Linked DNA regions of Homo sapiens: region 2 is linked to region 1. Evidence: promoter capture Hi-C in human tissues and cell types (Jung and others, 2019). All regions are on one chromosome and are shown on one strand. Each heading gives the region's core, a stretch centred on a gene start or on the middle of the fragment in contact. The rest is flanking DNA. Distances are from core to core; before and after follow the strand shown.

Region 1 (3,641 bases), core at 1,082-3,581:
CTGGGCAAAACTGGATGGTGGGGTGTAAAGGGACGTGCACAGATCTACTTACCAAGCTGGGAGCAAGCAGGATTGGGGGCCTGGAGAAGCTGAAAGGTTAAGCAGCAGTAGGCGAGGTGCCTACTCCTGTCCTGTGCCTATCACATTTGCAGAGGGTAAGACAAGAATGGGGAGGGACAAGATGAGGCTCATCCTGGGCCTCTCCTGGGGCCCCTCCCTCACCCTGCTCCTTCCCATCACCAACGCACCCAGGCGTCCAGGCATGTGAGAGCCTGCCTTGCCAGGAAACAGCACAAGCTGAAGTGGGGCAGTAAGATTCCCTGGTGGTGGAAGGAAATAGGAGGACTCTGCTGAATCCTGGTCCTGCTTCTGTTCTCATCCCTCCCCCAGCTCTGGCCCCAATCCTCCCAGCCCACCTTCTGCAGTGTGTATGTTGCCTGGTCTCTCTGGCCTGCAGAGGTGACCCAAACAACTCAGTCCCCCACCTGCCTTATCCTTGCCTGTTTCCAGTCTCCTGGTCCGGCTGAGCCCCTGGCCTCCTACCTCCTCCCACCTCTTGCCTCAGGCCCTGCCCCAGTCACTCCACCCTCAGGGCTCTCACCGGGCTGTCAATGACAGCTTTTCCATGTAAGGCATGGTGCTAGGTTCCAGGAGGAACAGGGGATGCATGGAGGCATAATGGTTAGGGAGTCATGACACACAACCATGAAGAGGCCCCATTACCAGGCTGCACCAGGATACAAGACAAGAAAGGAAAGGATGAGTAGGGACATACTAAGAAGCAGCCCTCTCCTCTTGGAAAAGTCAAGCAAAACTTGGAAATGAAGAGATTTGAGGGGGGCCTGGCAGATGGATAGAGCTGGGGGAAGGGAAAAGAAAGGCCTCTGCTCAAGTAACAGCCAGAACTTGAGGTTGCTTGGGGAGGGCACCAGGAGCACTGTCTTAGTTTGGGTTCTTCCAAAGCAGAGCTTGAGCTAAGGGCTTGGGTACAGGTGATCCTGTATTCTTGAGCTAAGGGCTTGGGTACAGGTGATCCTGTATTTGGGAGGTTAACTCAGGAAGTGAGGGCATAAGGTAAAACAAGAGAGAGGAAAGCCATTAAGAGTATGTTAAGTCCCTTCAGTAGGCCTTGGGAACCTCTGAGAAAAGTATAGATTGCCCAAGACAAAAGACTGGCAGGGTGATCAGTCCAAAGCATTTATTAGGAGAATGTACTTAATGAGTGGGCTACAGCGTATCCTCACAACAGACAGTGAGAGAGAGTTGTTCTACCTGGGTATATCCAAAACAAGGGGGTCAGGGTATGGAGTTTACGAGGGTTCAAGGTATTTGGTTCAGGGCCAGGGCCAGTTTTTTTCAGTGTTTTGGGCAACAACCTGAATACCTTTTCAAGGCTCTGGCTTGGGCTCAAGCCTGCAGGGGAAATGCAACTGGCCAGGTCACAGGGCAATCAAGTTACTCTGTGTTTCTTTGTCAGGACACAGAAAAAAAGTGGGGAAGCTGGGGGACCCTACAAGGATCCTTGGCAGGAAAGCAGGGATTGTGTTCATTTGAGGGTTTCACTGTCAGTGAGAGTCTCAGCTTCCATGCAACTGTCCATCACGGCTGCAACTGAAATCAGAGCTGGGACACAGCGCACCAGAAGCTAAAGTCTTGATGCCATCAAAGGACATCCCTGCCCCATTCACATCTCTGTCACGTCCACTAATCGGCAAAAGGAGAAAAGTGAGAGAAGATGACCTAAGTGTGACTGCAGCAGGCAGCTCTGGAAAATGAAGCCAGAGCAGTGAGCCAGCCCCTCCTCCGACCAAGGAGGAAGGAAAGAGCAGGTAAGCAGGAAGGCCAGTGTCCCAGACAGGACCCTAATGATCCTGAATCCATGTATCAGGATCCATCCTCTCCTTACACCCTTCCTGGACACAGTCTCACCTCTCATTTTCCAAAGCCCTGCCATGCTGCCATCCCACTTCCCCACACTCTGCCCCGGGTTCCCTTTTCCTAAAGCTGCAGCTTATGGCTTCTCCAGTAGGTGGCAGCACACACAGAGCCACTCATAAACTGCAGCTTCTCAGAGCCTGAGAGCCAGAAACCGTCCCCAGAAATTCCCTCCATAGAAATAAAAAAACACCAGAAGTCACATTTCATCCTTTTACATGGTTCCCATCTACCCTCACAACACATGTCATCACCAAAGACACACATACAAGCTCCAATGGCTTTTGCCAGGCAATTCTTCCTCCAGGACCCCATCTGGCCCCTCCCTCATCCCTCCCCTTGGACTTTGCCCTTCTTACTGGCCAGGCAGGGGGGCCAGAGTCCAGGCTTGACTCATTCCCACCTTGTCCTGGGCTGAGATCCCAGGTTTGTAACAGAAAACACCACTAAAGCCCCAGCACAGGAGAGAACCACCCAGCCCAGAAGTTCCAGGGAAGGAACTCTCCGGTCCACCATGGAGTACCTCTCAGCTCTGAACCCCAGTGACTTACTCAGGTGACTGCTAACCCTCCGCTCTACCCTCCACCTTTAGGGGATATAGGCAGGGCAACAATACTCCACTCAGCCCCTAGGAGACTAACCAGTACCCCTTCCTCTCCTGCTCCCCACTCCACAGTGGGCTTGTCAAGCTCCTGAGCCACCCGCCCCCACCTGCACTCCATGGTCTCTCCCTCATCCCTAATCGATAAACCTAGATCTCTCCCTCCCTAGCCCTCTAGCCACTCTACCCTCATCATGCCCTTTACACTCACCAAGCCCCTCCTCGCCCCTTCTTGACTTTTCTTCTCAACTACCAGGTCAGTATCTAATATAAGCTCGGAGTTTGGACGGAGGGTCTGGACCTCAGCTCCACCACCCCAGCGACCTTTCCGTGTCTGTGATCACAAGCGGACCATCCGGAAAGGCCTGACAGCTGCCACCCGCCAGGAGCTGCTAGCCAAAGTAAGTAGGCCAAGTTCCTCGGTTCCTATAGCAGGGGTAGCCAAGGGGCTCCACAACAGTGGCAACTTGTGATGATGGAGCAGAGGGCTGAAGTCACACAGCTGCCCCTCCCTCTGAGGGCTAAAAGCAGCGGAGTGGGCCTAATGAGCTCTGGTCAATTTGTTCATTTTCCACCGAGTGAGCTTTTCTATGGGAGCAGGGGTTAGCAGGAGATAGGGAGAGTTCGAGGGACAGAATTCAGAAGCTAGTATGGAAAGGTGATTTGTGTGACAAATCAAGTTCAAATTCTGATTCTGCCACTTCCTGCCTGTCAAACCTTGGGAAGTTGTTCAACCTACCAAAACCTCAGTTTCTTCAACTATAAAAAGGCAATAATAATACATCACCTCCTAGGGTTGTTGAAAGGAGTAAGAGGATAATGTAGGTAAAGTCCTCATACCTGGCACAGAGTAAGGACTCAAAAAGGTTAAACACTATTACTGAAAACACTTCTGGAGAACTCTTGAGGGTGTGGGAAGTGAGGTGCAGCATTGTAGATAAGACAGAAGGGTGGACTTCGTGAGAACCTGGCTTGCTTTCCAATTCCAAACCAGAAGTGACTTGGAGGGGAGCAAGGGGAGATGCCAATGACATGGTAGGAGCAAAGAGGAAAAAGGTCAGCCTCTAGCTAGGATCCCCCAAAAACTGAAGAACACGGAGAGCTG
Region 2 (2,700 bases), core at 1-2,500, 340 kb after region 1:
ATGCTGCCTTGTTATTCTTTACTCCACCGACATGTTTGGGTGGAGAGAAACATAAATCTGGCTTACGTGCACGTCCAGTCATAGTACCTTCCCTTGAACTGAATTATGATGTAGATTCTATTGCTCACGTTTGTTGCTGACCTTCTCCTTATTATCACCCTGCCCTCCTACTACATTCCTTTTTACTGAAATAATGACGATAATAATCAATAAAAACTGAGGGAATTCAGAGACCGGTGCCGGTGCAGGTCCTTGGTATGCTGAGCGCCGGTCCCCTGGACTCACTGTTGTTTCTCTATACTTTGTCTCTGTGTCTTATTTCTCTTTCTCAGTCTCTTGTCCCACCTGACTAGAAATACCCACAGGTGTGGAGGGGCAAGCCACCCCTTCAAGCAGTAGCAACCCGCTTGGGTCCCCTTCCACACTGTGGAAGCTTTGTTCTTTCACTCTTTGCAATAAATCTTGCTGCTGCTCACTCTTTGGGTCCACACTGCCTTTATGAGCTGTAACACTCACCGTGAAGGTCTGCAGCTTCACTCCTGAGGCCAGTGAGGCCACGAACCCACCAGGAGGAATGAACAACTCCAGACAGGAGGAACGAACAACTCCAGACATGCTGCCTTAAGAGCTGTAACACTCACTGCGAAGGTCCGCAGCTTCACTCCTGAAGCCAGCAAGACCACGAACCCACCAGAAGGAAGAAACTCTGAACATGTCTGAACATCAGAAGGAACAAACTCCAGACACGCTGCCTTTAAGAACTGTAACACTCACCGCGAGGGTCCGCAGCTTCATTCTTGAAGTCAGTGAGACCAAGAACCCACCAATTCCAGACATACCTTCATTTTGGGCCTATGTGTGTCTTTGCATGTGAGATGGGTCTCCTGAATACAGCACACCATATGGGTCTTGATTCTTTATCCAATTTGCCAGTCTGTGTCTTTTAATTGGGGCATTTATCCCATTTACATTGAAGGTTAGTATTGTTATATGTGAATTTGATCCTGTCATGACGTTAGCTGGTTATTTTGCCCATTAATTGATGCAGTTTCTTCATAGCATCAATGGTCTTTACAATTTCGTATGTTTTTGCAGTGGCTGGTACCCGTTGTTCCTTTCCATGTTTAGTGCTTCCTTCAGGAGCTCTTATTGTAAGGCAGGCCTGGTGGTGACAAAATCTCTCAGCATCTCCTTGTCTGCAAAGGATTTTATTTCTCATTCACATACGAAGCTTAGTTTGGCTGGATATGAAATTCTAGTTTCAAAAATCTTTTCTTTCAGAATGTTGAATATTGGTCCCAACTCTTTTCTGGTTTGTATGGTTTCTGCTGAGAGATCTGCTGTTAGTCTGATGGGCTTCCCTTTGTTGGTCACCCAACCTTTCTCTCTGGCTGCCCTTAACCTTGCTGAGTCTGACAATTATGTGTCTTGGGGTTGCTCTTCTCAAGGAGTATCTTTGTGATGTTCTCTGTATTTCCTGAATTTGAATGTTTCTTTTTTATTTTTTTGTCTCTAATCTTGTCTTCTCACTTTATTTCATTAATTTTATCTTCAATCACTGATATCCTTTCTTCCACTTGATTGAATCAGCTATTGAAGCTTGTGTATCCTTCATGAAGTTCTTGTACTGTGGTTATCAGCTCCATCAGGTCATTTAAGCTCTTCTCTACATTCTTCATTCTAGTTAGCCATTCGTTTAACCTTTTTTTGAAGGTTTTTAGCTTCCTTGTAATGGGTTAGAACATGTTCCTTTAGCTGGGAGTAGTTTGTTATTACTGACCTTCTGAAGCTTAACTTCTGTCAAGTTATCAAACTTATTCTCCATCCAGTTTTGTTCCCTTGCTGGTGAGGACTTGTATTCCTTTGGAAGAGAAGAGACGTTCTGGTTTCTGGAAGTTTCAGCATTTCTGCTCTGGTTTCTCTCCATCTTTGTGGTTTTATCTACCTTTGGTCTTTGATGTTGGTGACCTATGGATGGGGTTTTAGTGTGGATGTCCTTTGCTATTCTGATGTTGATGCTGTCCTTTGCTGATGTTGATGCTATTCCTTTCTGTTTGTTAGTTTTCCTTCTAACAGGCCCCTCAGCTGCAGGTCTTTGGGGGTTTGCTGGAAGTCCATTCCAGACCTTATTTTCTTGGGTATCAGTAGAGGAGGCTGCAGAACAGCAAATATTGCTGCCTGATCCTTCTTCTGGAAGCTTTGTTCCACAGGGGCACCCACCTGTATGAGGTGTCTCTCCGCCCCTACTGGTCGGTGTTTTTCAGTCAAGCTACATGGGGGTCAGGGACCCACTCGGGGAGGCAGTCTGTCCGTTATCGGAGCACGAACTCCGTGCTGGGAGAACCACTGCTGTCTTTAGAGATGTCAGGCAAGGACACTGAAGTCTGCAGAAGCTGTCCGCTGCCTTTTGTTCAGATATGCCCTGGCCCCTGAGGTGGAATCTGGAGAGGCAGTAGGCCTTGCTGAGCTGCGGTGGGTTCCGCCCAGTTAGAGCTTCCCTGCAGCTTTGTTTACACTGTGATCATAGAACGCCTACTGAAGCCTTAGCAATGGAGGACTTCCCTCCCCCACGGCCCCGTTAACTGATGCAGTTTCGGCCCCCCGCCCCCCACCGCCCTCTCCACCCTACCTGTCAAGCTCCAGCTCCAGCGGAGGATGCTCCAGGGACAGCGATGTCAGGACTGAGATGCAGGGGCTGCC

The links. The method cuts DNA at HindIII sites, captures the fragments that hold promoters and counts their contacts. A contact is called where the count stands out against the background at its distance.
Region 2: a fragment that was not itself captured here is called in contact with the fragment with the promoter of CIDEB in region 1 in 1 of the 25 tissues and cell types used here (small bowel).

Annotation. Positions count from the first base shown.
Region 1 is chr14:24,306,667-24,310,307 of GRCh38, reverse strand. CIDEB (cell death inducing DFFA like effector b) reads left to right here and starts at 2,331. Exons shown (of 5, transcript NM_001393339.1): 1 at 2,331-2,490; 2 at 2,793-2,937. The coding sequence starts at 2,450. It overlaps NOP9 (NOP9 nucleolar protein), which reads right to left. Exons shown (of 10, transcript NM_174913.3): 10 at 1,184-3,641. It overlaps LTB4R2 (leukotriene B4 receptor 2), which reads right to left and starts at 168. Exons shown (of 2, transcript NM_019839.5): 1 at 53-168. The HindIII fragment of the contact is 10,071 bases long and covers 1-2,839 here.
Region 2 is chr14:23,970,262-23,972,961 of GRCh38, reverse strand. It overlaps a transcript of DHRS4L2 not described here. Among named protein-coding and RNA genes, the nearest start is that of DHRS4-AS1, 16 kb to the right of the region's middle. The HindIII fragment of the contact is 4,031 bases long and covers 1-2,700 here.